2 separate regions of the Homo sapiens genome follow, and region 1 is linked to region 2. The links are contacts of gene promoters, found by promoter capture Hi-C in human tissues and cell types (Jung and others, 2019). All regions are on one chromosome and are shown on one strand. The core of a region is centred on a gene start or on the middle of the fragment in contact, and the rest is flanking DNA. Distances in the headings are between cores, read along the strand shown. Region 1 overlaps HACL1 (2-hydroxyacyl-CoA lyase 1). Region 2 holds the start of COLQ (collagen like tail subunit of asymmetric acetylcholinesterase).

Region 1 (6,652 bases), core at 105-2,604, 43 kb after region 2:
TTAAACCTGTGCCATCCAAGACAGTAGCCACTATCTACCTGTTGCTGTGAGCACTTGAAATGTGACTAAACTGAGGAACTAAATTTTTAATTTCATTTAATTTGAAGTAATTTAAATCTAATTTGCAACAGTTGCAGCATGCCTAGTGGCTACTATACTAGACAGCACAGGCTACATTATCAACTATTATGAATCCAGAAGAAAAACATGAAAAAAAAAGATTACTGCAAAACAACAAATAATAAGAAAACAACAAATAAAGTTAGTGAGGCATAAATAGACACACCCATACCCTGTTCCACCCCAAGGCTGGCTCACAAATTCATATCTGTCTCACATTCTACGGCCAGCTACAATACTGTCTTAATCTGGCTCTGCCATCAGATGATCAAGATTTAGCTAAGTGGTGAAAGGAAGGTAGACCTCTGGAACACAAATAATACGTAAACATCCACATTTCCAAATGGTGTAACAGGAATCAGTAGTCCTACTATTGCTCCCAGTCCAGGGAGCATTTTGCAATAAGCCTTTTCATTAACAAGGCTCAGACATCACACTCATTTATCTGAGTCTTCAGTGGCTCCCTGATTATTTACTGAAGCACCTAATCATGGATATTTGTGCAAAGAGGAACTAAGACAGGATTCCTTCTCTTTAGAAGGGCTGACAATCGAAACGGACAATACTCATACCATGTAGGCACATTACTGCCAATATAGAAGACTTTTTAAAAAGAGATTAAAACGGGAAAGAGAAAGTAAACAGACATTGGTCTTGGTTACTTACACTGCAGTAGCATCTTGAAATTTTAACATTTCTTTCCAAGTATCTGTATCAAAACCTTGGTAAATTCCATTGTTATTCACTACCAACAGTATGATTGGCAAGTTGTACCTAAAGTGAGAGTAAAATATGAAGGAAATCATTCTTCATTTTAAAGTAATTTCTTTTCTTTGGGTTGAAACTTTAACTTAAAAATGAATAGTTTCCTATAAGCTTTTTGTATTATTAGAGGAAGACTAAAAATCAAGCATTTATTATCCTAAGAAAGAATATCAAATAATTAACAGAAACATCATGGAAAGGCAGAAAGAATGCAAGATTAAGAGTTGTTAGTCCTGGCTGGGCATGATGGCTCATGCCTGTAATCCCAGCACTTTGGGAGGCTGAGGTGGGCGGATCACAAGGTCAGGAGTTCAAGACAAGCCTGGCCAATATGGTGAAACCCCGTCTCTACTAAAAATACAAAAATTAGCTGTGCATGGTGGCATGTGCCTGTAGTCCCAGCTACTCGGGAGGCTGAGGCAGAAGAATCGCTTGAACCCGGGAGGCGGAGGTTGCAGTGAGCAGAGATCACACCACTGCACTCCAGCCTGGGTAACAGAGCAAGACTCCATCTCAGAAAAAAAAAAAAAAAGTTGATAGTCCTTTAGCTATTAGCTATGAACCTCAGACAAATCACTGAGCTTTTCTGAATCTGGGTTTTCATAAGTCTAGATGGTATATGAAGAACACCTTCCCTATTTAATACTCTCTAAAGTACCACTTCTAGTTGGTTCCTAGGAACAGTGTTTGAAACGTACCTTTCTATTTACTGAGCTCCCCACAGACACCCAGCTCTTGCTAGATGCTGTGGAAGATACACAAGTAACTAGCACACACAATCTGCACTCAAACTACCACACACATAATCAGAAACACATTACATGGTGTAGTCAGTACAGAAAAGGAGTATTTAACAGTGTGCTAAACAGTATAGCAAAGACAAAAAAGAAAAGGTTGATTAAATGTTATTGACTGAAAAGAATGTAGGTTTTATTTTCTAACATAATTTCCAAGGGCAAGTGGTAAAAACAAAACTAAACTGCATACTGTTAAATAACAGGACTGTGGTAATTATTTGCTCTCCATGCTCAAAAGGAGTCATTATCCACTAAAAGGCTAACTTCCCCATAAGTCATCTTTTTTGTGTATATCACTTGGTTGTCAATAAAGACACTCTAACAGACACATACAGTCAGACCTCATTATCTGAGTTCTGCATCCGTGGATTTAACCAATTGCGGGTCAAAAATATTTGGGAAAAAAAATTGGATCTGTACTCAACATGCACAGACTTTGTTCTTGTCATTATTCCCTAAGCAATACAGCACAACAATTATTTATATAGCATTCATATTGTATTCAGTATTTTAAAGTAATCTAGACATCATTAAAAATATATGGGGGGTATGCATAGGTTATTTGCAAATACTGCACAATTTTATATCAGGGACTTACTTGAGCATCCTTGGATTTTGGTATTTGAGGAAGGTCCTGGAACCAATCCCCCACTGATATAGAGGGACAACTATACCTTCCCAAATCTTGAACGTTTTATCTACCAAAGCTTTGCCAACCCCAAAACATGATTCACAAAAGCCCTAATAAGAGCCCTGGCTAAGAATAGAATGGTTTTACTACAGTTTAAATATAGCTGGAAAAATAAAACCCCCATCCTTCTATAGTGAGGATCTACAATTCATGAGTTTCTCCATGAATTCTCATAACTACACACATGATCCAAATGACTCATGTTCACTGAGCATCACCTCAGAATTTAGCTGGGGCCAAGCATGGTGGCTCACACCTGTAATTCTAGCACTTAGAGAGGCCAAGGCGGGTGGATTGCTTGAGCTTAGAAATTTGAGACCAGTGTGGCCAATATGGCAAAGCCCTGTCTCTACAAAAAAATACAAAAAATTAGCTGGGCATGGTGGTGCATGCCTGTGATCCCAGCTACTCAGAAGGCTAAGGAGGCAGGATCCGTTGAACTTGGGTGGTTGACGCTGCGGTGAGCCGCAGTTGCGCCATTCCACTCCAGTCTGGGTGACAAAGCAAGACCCCATCTTGAAAAAAAAAAACTGCTTGGATTACCTCATTTGTTTTTCATAATCATCTTTCTAAGGTAGGAACTATTACTATTCCTACTTTTTTTTTTTCAAGGAATTTCTGCCTAAAGGATACTATTCCTGCTTTAGAAGAGAGGAGACTGAGGCTTGGTTAAGTGACTTTTTTTTTTTTTTTTTTTTTGCGATGGAGTCTTGCTCTGTCGCCCAGGCTAGAGTGCAGTGGTGCGATCTTGGCTCACTGCAAACTACACCTCCCAGGTTCAAGCGATTCTCCTGCCTTCAGCCTCCCAAATAGCTGGGACTATAGGCATGCACCACCACATCTGGCTATTTTTTGTATTTTTAGTAGAGATGGGGTTTTACCATGCTGGCCAGACTGGTCTCTAACTCCTGACCTCAGGTGATCTGCCCACCTCAGCCACCCAAAGTGTTGGGATTACGGGCATGAGCTACCACGCCCAGCCTTGGTTAAGTGACTTAAAGTCACATGGCTCTGACTTGATAGAACCAGTATTTAAATCCAGGCCATTTGTCCCACAAGCCATGCTGCCTTTTTTTTTTTTTTTTTTTTTTGAGATGGAGTCTCGCTCTGTCACCCAGGCTAGAGTGCAGTGGTGCGATTTCAGCTCACTGCAACCTCCACTTCCCAGTTCAAGCAACTCTTCTGCTTCAGCCTCCCGAGTAGCTGGGATTACAGGCATGCATCACTGCGTCTGGCTAATTTTTTTTTTTTTTTGTATATTTAGTAGAGATGGGATTTCACCATTTTGGCCAGGCTGGTCTTGAACTCCTGACCTAAAGTGATCTGCCTGCCTTGGCCTCCCAAAGGGCTGGGATTACAGGTGTGAGCCACCATGACTGGCAGAAGCCATGCTCTTCAACCACCACACTTGCTATTTCCCACAGGAAACAAGCTTCTTTCAGTCCCCAACATTTTTTTCTCAGTGACCTCAAAACCACTCCCCACAGTTTTACAGGTTTTTACCATACAGTGAGGAGGCCAGAAAGATACGGTTCTGGAAGAGAAAGACCGTGGGTTACTGCCACTAGCATCCTCAGGACAGAACACAGTGCTGTGCACAGGGCACCTGGTGAACGCTTCATAAGTATTTGTCAGGTGACTGGGTCTTGTGTGTCATTTTTCATATTCTAGAGAATCAAATGCTCTGATTCAGGATGATGTTTTACCTGCAGATGGTTTCTACCTCCATGCCAGAAAACCCAAATGCACTGTCTCCTTCCACACAGATGATCCATTGCCCAGGGCTTCTATCTTTAGCCACCACGGCAGCTGCAATAGCAAATCCCAAACCAACTCCCATTGTTCCGAAAGTACCAGCATCAAGCCTGTTGGAGAACAAAGTTAAAATGAAACCCTCTGGGGCATGTCATAGAGGATGGGATTGGCACAAACCTTCTAGTCATATTTACATGGTTGATGGAAAAATGAAGAACCATAAAAACATTCTCTTTCTTCAATATAAAATCTTTAGACTGCTAGGAACTAATTTGTCAAGGATAGAAAAAAGCCACCCATGTTTGCTTGGAAGACTATAAACATATTCCTAGAATACTAAGTAAACAATTATCATGATACCAAGAACACATCAAGCATAAAAACTCTACAAAACCTCACCTAAGGATACTTTTATGAAATATGTCCTTACATACTAAACATGTATTAATTCTCAAACGTCTTCTTAATCTGCACTATTACAGTTTCATATTAAACACATTATAATGAATTACGACTTCTTTCTTCTTTAGAAGTCTTACCTGTGACGAGGAAGGTAGTTCTGAAGCACAGTCCGTCCAATGTCCATAGTATTTGCTCCTTCACTTACCACGAAACAGTCTCTAGGTAGTTGTTCTTGAACATGGTAGAATACTGTGTAATAATTCATAGGCAGGGATTTTTTAGAAGCTAGTTCCTGAAAAGTAGATGGGAATATAATCAAATTAAATTGGGATACAATGAAAATAACCAATGTTAATAAGATGCTATCAAACTTATTTGGAAATACGCAACAACTACAAGCTACAAGGTTTCCAAATGGCTATAAAATGGCCACTCTGAGAAGTTGGCTGACCTGTGAACAGCCCTGGGGGACATGTGTACCACAGTCCCAGTTGGGAACACAATTAAATAAGCTCGGGAATATCCCGCCTCTTGGAGATCTGCAATGCACAGGAGTGTATTAAAGACATTGAGAAGTCCTACAGTAAAGACAGCTGAGAAGCACTGGGTTACATAAAACTAAACGTTCTTATTTGAGCACTCTTAGGAAAACGGTGCCTTAGAAAAAGTGAAATTTATTCCAGAATATTTTCATCTGAACTATGACCCTAAACTTAAAATGTCACAATTTTAGAATACAATCTGAAAATCTAGTTTTTCCCCCAACACACTTAAGAGTTAAAGGAGCTATCTTACCCCCACTATTCTAAAGAGTCCCTGAATGGAGAGAAAAACAGCAAGGTAAACGCCTTTGTCTAGCCACATGCCTTTCAGGGCTGAGAAAAAGCCATAGAGAGCTTTAGCAGCAACAGTCCCATCTGGCCCCAGGACTGCCTCTTCACCTATGCTACTTTGTTCTGCTGGAGATTATACACAAGGTAAAGAGGGACCCTCCTATACTCCTGCACTAAAGAAGAGAAGCAAGTCCCTTCTATCTTAAACCAACATCGTTCCTATGCGAAAGAAAAGATTAGTCATGATATGACTCAGGAAATAAAATTGAGACTGGTGGCCAGGCATGGTAGCTCACGCCTGTAATCCCAGCACTTTGGGAGGCCAAGGCGGGCGGATCACGAGGTTAGGAGTTCGAGATCATCCTGGCCAACATGGTGAAATCCTGTCTCTACTAAAAAAAATACAAAAATTGGCTGGGTGCGGTGGCTCACGCCTGTAATCCCAGCACTTTGGGAGGCCGAGGTGGGCAGGTCACCTGAGGTCGGGAGTTCGAGACCAGCCTGACCAACATGGAGAAGCTCTGTCTCTATTAAAAATACAAAATTAGTCAGGCATGGTGGCACATGCCTGTAATCCAGCTACTCGGGATGCTGAGGCAGGAGAATTGCATGAACCCAGGAGGCGGAGGTTGCGGTGAGCCAAGCTCGTGTCATTGCACTCCAGCCTGGGCAACAAAAGCAAGACTCCATCTCAAAAAAGAAAAAAAAAAAAAGTAGCCAGGCATGGTGCCAGCTACCTGTAATCCCAGCTACTCGGGAGGCTGAGGCAGGAGAATTGCTTGAAACTGGAAGGCAGAGGTTGCAGTGAGCTGAGATCGCGCCACTGCACTCCAGCCTGGGCAACAAGAGTGAAACTCCATCTCAAAAAAAAAAAAAAATTGAGACTGGCTCCAGATAGAAACAGTCATTGATTAAAATTCTAATGTAGGCCAGGCACGGTGGCTCATGCCTGTAATCCCAGCACTTTGGGAGGCCAAGGCGGGCGGATCACGAGGTCAAGAGATCAAGACCATCCTGGCCAACATGGTGAAACTCCATCTCTACCAAAAATACAAAAATTAGCTGGGCGTGGTGGCACACGTCTGTAGTCCCAGCTACTTGGGAGGCTGATGCAGGAGAATTGCTTAAACCTGCGAGGCAGAGGTTGCAGTGAGCCAAGATCACGCCATTGCACTCCAGCCCTCTAGCCTGGCGACAGAGTGAGACTCTGTCCCCAAAAAAAAAAAAAATTCCAATGTAAGACAGATTCATGTACAATCAATTCTGCTATAATGTTTGATGCGAAAATG
Region 2 (6,127 bases), core at 2,157-4,656:
GTAATCATTCTTATCATCCGTCATTGTGTCTAGCTTAAGCAGCAACTCCTCCCTCCCCAATTTAATATGCTATATATAATCACCAGCTTTCAAGTCACGGACTATCTATGTCTATTAGAGTGGTGCCCAAAGTAAGAGTTAATAGGCTTAGAATAAAGGCCTGAAATAGTTTTGTGTGTATCAAATATTATGTGCTTTAGCGATGGCATTTCTATCATCAGTTCTGGCCTCTGATGTTTTTTGCTCCTTCCTGGTTCTCCTCTGGGACCCAGCAGAGGAGGTTGCCAGGTAATGAACCTCTGATCCAGATAGCTGGTGCTGCACATGGCACTGCTGGAATAGTCTTTCTTGAAGACAGTGAAGGAGTGGATTATCTATGAAGGTAAGTACTGGCTTACAGGCCCATGAGAGCTCTTCCTCCATCACAACCCCTTTCCGGGGCATTTACCACACGCCACCTGTGTTTCAAAAGCAGGTGATCATGGAATCCCTCAGAGCAGAGGCCACATCCTACTTGTCTCCGTGTCCCTTGAAGCACACATTAGAGTGCCAGGCACACAGTAGGCACTCACTAAGTTATAATGCATAGAATGAAAAGATTTTCCTGGTTGCCCTTATTTTCTGTGTATACACAGCCTATCTTCAGAAGAATTAAGAGTCTATAAGCTTCTGAATATAGAATATTTTATATCAAACTGTTGGAAAATATTTCCAAAGGATTACAAGGAACAGCTTCCATTTTTTTAAAGCTTAAGTTTATTTCTGAACTGTGCTATCATAAAGCCATGGTGACTAAATTAGGGGGGCAAAGCCAAGTGACCACCGGAGAAAACATATCTTTGTGATACTGAGCTGGTTACCTTAGTGATTCCCGCTAGGTCTATTCCATTGTTTTCCCTAATGTCTAATGACCACATTCCCAGCCAGAAGTGCCTGTGGATGTGCGCACTGGTTGTTCTCCATCCCAACCCTCCCCTTGGCTCTCTGCCCTCAGTGTTCCAGTCCCTGACCTCCAGGCTCTGCCCTCTGGCTTCAAGTTGGGTTGGCCAATGAGAGGCGCTGCCAAAAGGTGCTTGGATGGGAGGAGAGAGAAGATGGTGTACTTCTCCTTCACTTTCTCCCTGCTTTAGGGCCTTCCATGACCAATGCTCTTGCTTAATGGCCCCTTCTCTAAGGCTCCAAATCTGCCTGGGATCCATTTTCCTATTTGCCCCTCTTGCCTTTTCAAGCACAGGGTGGTAAAGGCATATTGCAGTTGCTAATCTCTAGGTGCCTCAGCATTCCTTGTTGGTTCCCTTAACCCCGCCCACACCTCTCAAAGTGATCCCTTCATTCAGATCTTTTCATCTGAACCACCTGAGTTGCTTCTTTATCCTGCTGTTGCCCTGATTGGTACAGTCTGCAAAAAGCTTACCTAAGAGATATCTATGTTGTGCCAGGGTGCTCTCCAAGGCAAAGAGTTCAAAAGAAAACCAGAGGTTCTTTTCTCTCTAGTTTTCTGAACTCCTTAACCACTTTGGTGCTATTTAAATTAAGTAATACAAAATGATGGTAAACCCCAGTTTGCAGATGAGAAGCTTTTATTCATTCATTCATCAAATATTTATTGATTACTATGTGCCAGGCACTGTTCTGACCCTGGGAAAACAGTAAAGTACAAGAGAGACACATGCCCTGGCCACATGGTGCTTATAGTGTAAGGCCACTGTCTCTCAGAAGTCAGGGAGCTCATCAGAGGCAGGGCTAGAACCAGAAAACTGAGTTTCCTTAAGTCCTAACCTTCAGCAGATTCTCAAAGGAATCCATGACCCAAACATGATTAAGAACCACCAAATTAGGCCAAATTAACTCTCAAGCTTCTCCCTTGAACTGGGGAATGAATAATGACTACTCACTCCTAGAAGAAGCTTGATGCTCTTAACTTGAATTTGCAGGGGCATGTGGGCACACACCCACGGTGACACCACCACTCACCTTTCCTGCCCACCCTCCTGAATTCTCCACAAATCTGCCCCCACCTCCTTCTGTTTCTCACACTTTTATAATTAGCCTCACACCAGTCTCTGAGTCACTCCCTCATGGCCCACAAACGTTGGCTACACAACTTGCTGATGAGCTGTTTTTATCAATGGACAGCAGTTGGGAGCTGGATTCAGAGATGTGCCCTCTCTGAGAGCCTGGCATTTCTGGCCCTCCCTGTGTTTCCAGCAAAGGCAGCGATAGTGAAATTTCTGTCTCAGTTGAAGTATTTATGAGACTCATGTTGGAGGCATAACTAAAACTTTGCTGGGGAGAGTCAGGGGTCACTGAGGTGAATTGAGGGGGGCTGTGAGGGTCTGCCTGCCTCCTTCAAGCCCTCCGGAAACATTTGAGTTTCCTCAGAAAGGTTTAAATAGGCCATACTAGTAACCGAATACTTCCCCTGCTCTGGGTCAGACAAGACAAGGGCAACAGGCTGCTGACCTCAGAAAAGGTTGCAGGCTGGCAGACACAGCCCCTTCCCCAAATCTCCCAGCCTCATACCCGGCAGACACACTCAGCTCCAGACCTGGCTGTCACTGTGGAACCCCCTCCACTTCTCCCTGGAAAGCTCACTTCTCTCAGGACCTCCAGCTGCCTTGTCTGAGGCTGAAGGGAAGTCGCACCCAGGAAGACAGGTCTGGAGAAAGGGAAAACCTAGTCCTGAGGCTGCAACTGCCCCGCCGCTGTTCACCCCCCACCCCACCGGCCCCTGCCACCTGCATTTTCCCTTCGAGGGACTATTGTGGCCATGGATGCTATCTGGGTCTGGAAAGAGGTTTGTTTACTCCACAACAGCCCCTGTGAGGCAAGCCCCCTTCGAAGAGGTCAGAGATGTATTTATAGAAACATCTGAGACTCACTTCTCTATTACTTGCACACCTCTGTCTCTTTTAAGCTCTCCCAAATTCCTGACCAAGATGAAATCATGCAGCAAATGGGGAGAATAGGGGAGGCAGAAACCATTTTTCAAAGTGTCTCTGCTTTGAGCAGCCAGGTAGGAGCCGGTTGGAACAAGGACAGAAGGGGCTTCCGAGACAAGCTCGGGTGACAGGAAGCTGCTGGGGTGGCCGTCTTCCTTCCAACCTCCCTCCACCAACAGTTGAATGGCAAAAACATCAGGACACATTGCAAAACAATCTTCCTTCCTCCCCCTGTCCCCTGACAGATGGAAGAGAGGAAAGTTGTGGCCATCATTTACCTGCTGAGATTGGAAGAACGCTGTTGATGAAAGTCGGCTGAGACACGATAGAGAGGAAGAAAAGCTGAAGATAAATTCCCAAAGTCATTGGATTCAGGACAACCATGCTGGCCAGGGTCTGGCGAGGGTCAAGTTAGAAAGGAGGCTGCTGCGGAGCCTTGCTTATCTCTGCTTTTCTCTTCCTCACTGCTGTTTGCGTGCGCGTGTGTTTGTGTGTGTGTGTGTGCGTGTGTGTGTGTGTCTGTGTGTGTGTGTGTCTTTCCCTCTTTCTCTTTCCCTCTCCCTCCTCCTCACCCCCTCCCTCTCTCTCCCTCCCCCACCTCTCCTGTCTCCCATGCCTTTACCAAGAAAGAATGCCAACCATTTCCCATTAAACTGTCTCCATGCTACAGAGAGTTATATTTATCTCAAGCTCCATATCAAATGCCCACATTAAAATTAAGATGTCAAAATTTTCTTTTTTGGAGACTGAGGTAAGTGGCTAGTGAAGAGGTGATGAGAAGGCAGCCAAGTCTCAGATGTTCACTGGAGGCAGTCCTCAAGGGCAGAGAGATTCCTAATTGGTTATGTGCCACCATCTACCTCCTTGGAACTGGGCAGAAACAACTCTCCTGATTCAAACTGAATTTCATGGAGAAAAACCCCTCCACTGTCAGCCTGTGACATTTTTACCCATTGTGTAACAAATGTAAAGTTAACTTTTAATTTTTTTCTTTAATCATCCAATAAAAAGGAGGAAGGAAGTAGTTTATATTTCCAAACAGCTTTCTCTGTGAAAAAGTGTTTCTCTCTCCAAAAGCTGCAACCTTTTGATTCAATGCAAGGCAAAATAAATGAAAACAGTAAAAGTATAGAAAAGTGAATGATTTTTATCAAACTATATTCAGAAAAATAACATCACTAACTTAATCTTTGGCTAGACAAAATTATTCAAATAAAAATTATCACATTCTTAATACCTTTTATGAGTTTATAAAAGCCTGTTATAGAGATGATTAGATGACTAAAACAAAATAATAATTCACAGAGTTGTTCATTTTGCTTTAATTTACATATTACATGCCTCATAGGAGTTAACTCAGAAACAGTCTGCTAGTTACTGGATGCTGGGGTGGGCATCCTGCCCCTGTGCTCATTATGGGGAAGGTGGAGTTGGGTCAGGGCGTGGTATAAAGTGATATTTTACAGCTGTAGCACCACACTTGGGCTTGACTCTCAGCTCTGAGTGGCAGTGGACAAGCTCACCTCTCTAAGCCTCAGTTTTCTCATCCATACAATGGAGACAATGTTCCCTTTAAAGGTTTGTTGGAAAGTTAAGTGAGGTAATGGGGATGAATCCTACACGGATTAGAACTTGCACATAGGAACAGCACAAAGGAGACCCAAGGGAGCCATGGTAGCCTGGGTGCAAAGATGGCCTCCAAAAGTCCTCCCAACCCAGTGTGTGCATGACACTCTTCCCAGCAAAAAGCAGGGCTAGTTCCCCTCCCTTAAATCTGAGGTGGCTCTGTGACTTACTTTGACCAATAGAATGTGGCTAAAGGGACACTGTGCCATCTCCTGGCCTAGGCCTTAAAAGGCCTGGCAGCTCCTGCTTTTGCCTTTTCTTGAAAATCAGCTGCCACTTTAAAAAGTCTGGACTATTGAAGAGGCCACATGGAGGGGGAAGCAGCCAGCCTCCAGCTGTTCTGACTATCCCAGATGCAGCATCAACAGGCGAGTGAGGCCATTTTGGAACATCTAGCCCTGTCCTGGTCTCAGATGATGCCAGCCACAGGAGTGACCCCAAGTGAGACCCTCGAAAGAACTGCCCAGCCCAGATTACGAAGTCATGAGCAAATAAAACGGCTATTGTTTCAAACCAGTAAGTTTTAGGATGACTTGCTCATCAGCAATAGCTAACTGATACAGAGTTGATAAGGAAAGCTTTTGAAAGCATGAAAAATATACCTGAACTACATTCAAAATTTATAGGACAGATTAAAGAGAGGGTACCCCCATTTAGCTGCTCCCAAAATTTTTACAAGAAGGAGCTGTGATTGCTGGCCAAACTCAATCAGGACATTCTCAGGCTCACTCTTGTTAACTCCTGGAGCCCCAGCAGCCAGCTTCCAGTGGCTTGGAGAAGGTACAGTCTACCTGGGAGGAAGGTATCTTTTGAGTAACTTGGTGTCAGAATATGAATTTTTACTATCTAGCTCAGATTCCTCCTCTGCAAAGCCAGTATGACTTCTTCCTTCTCTCAGCACAAAGAATTCACCACTGACCATACCCTTGGAACAAATTCTGTCAATACGTCCTACCGGTGACACCTGCTGCTATTGTTTTTGAACACCACCTTGTGTTGCTATTTAGCTGGCATTAACATCCCTAAAGATAGGGGACTATCCCACAGCTCTATGTACTCTCAAGGCCCCCAGGACAGTCCTTGTCACCTAACAGATCCTCAACAATGTAAGTTACTTTGATCAAATCACACCACTGGGTAGGATGAAAAAAGAAGAACGTACAAAAGTAGCATAACTTTATGCTCCAGCTTTCTGCACAACTTGCATTTCCCCAGCACCCCTTGGAGCCTCTGCACATACAGCTGGGTGGCCTGCGCCTGATACAAGGGAGGGCTTTGGTGAGTATGGTGAGAGTGTGAGAGGGACTATGGATGGCCACCTTGAATTAGGACCCGCAGACAGAGAGGCTAAATTTATAATTCAAGTCACTGGAGAATGAGTCACTGCTGATCTAAAGTTACGACAGGAGCCTCTACCCTTTGAGGAGGCCCCAACACAGAGTTATTTATAAGGCCCCAATACTTATTAAACAATTTTTAGTAAATTTCCATTTCCTTAGGTATCTTATATTTTATGAACCTATTTCTTATAAGATTACCCTAACTGACCAAGACAGAAA

Evidence for each region. The method cuts DNA at HindIII sites, captures the fragments that hold promoters and counts their contacts. A contact is called where the count stands out against the background at its distance.
Region 1: a contact is called between a fragment that was not itself captured here and the fragment with the promoter of COLQ in region 2, in 1 of the 25 tissues and cell types used here (psoas muscle).

What each region holds. Positions count from the first base shown.
Region 1 is chr3:15,563,765-15,570,416 of GRCh38, forward strand. HACL1 (2-hydroxyacyl-CoA lyase 1) reads right to left here. Exons shown (of 17, transcript NM_012260.4): 13 at 4,668-4,822; 14 at 4,080-4,238; 15 at 787-894. Among named protein-coding and RNA genes, the nearest start is that of HACL1, 34 kb to the right of the region's middle. The HindIII fragment of the contact is 3,486 bases long and covers 1-3,097 here.
Region 2 is chr3:15,518,300-15,524,426 of GRCh38, forward strand. COLQ (collagen like tail subunit of asymmetric acetylcholinesterase) reads right to left here and starts at 3,407. Exons shown (of 17, transcript NM_005677.4): 1 at 3,221-3,407. The coding sequence starts at 3,326. The HindIII fragment of the contact is 5,771 bases long and covers 1,080-6,127 here.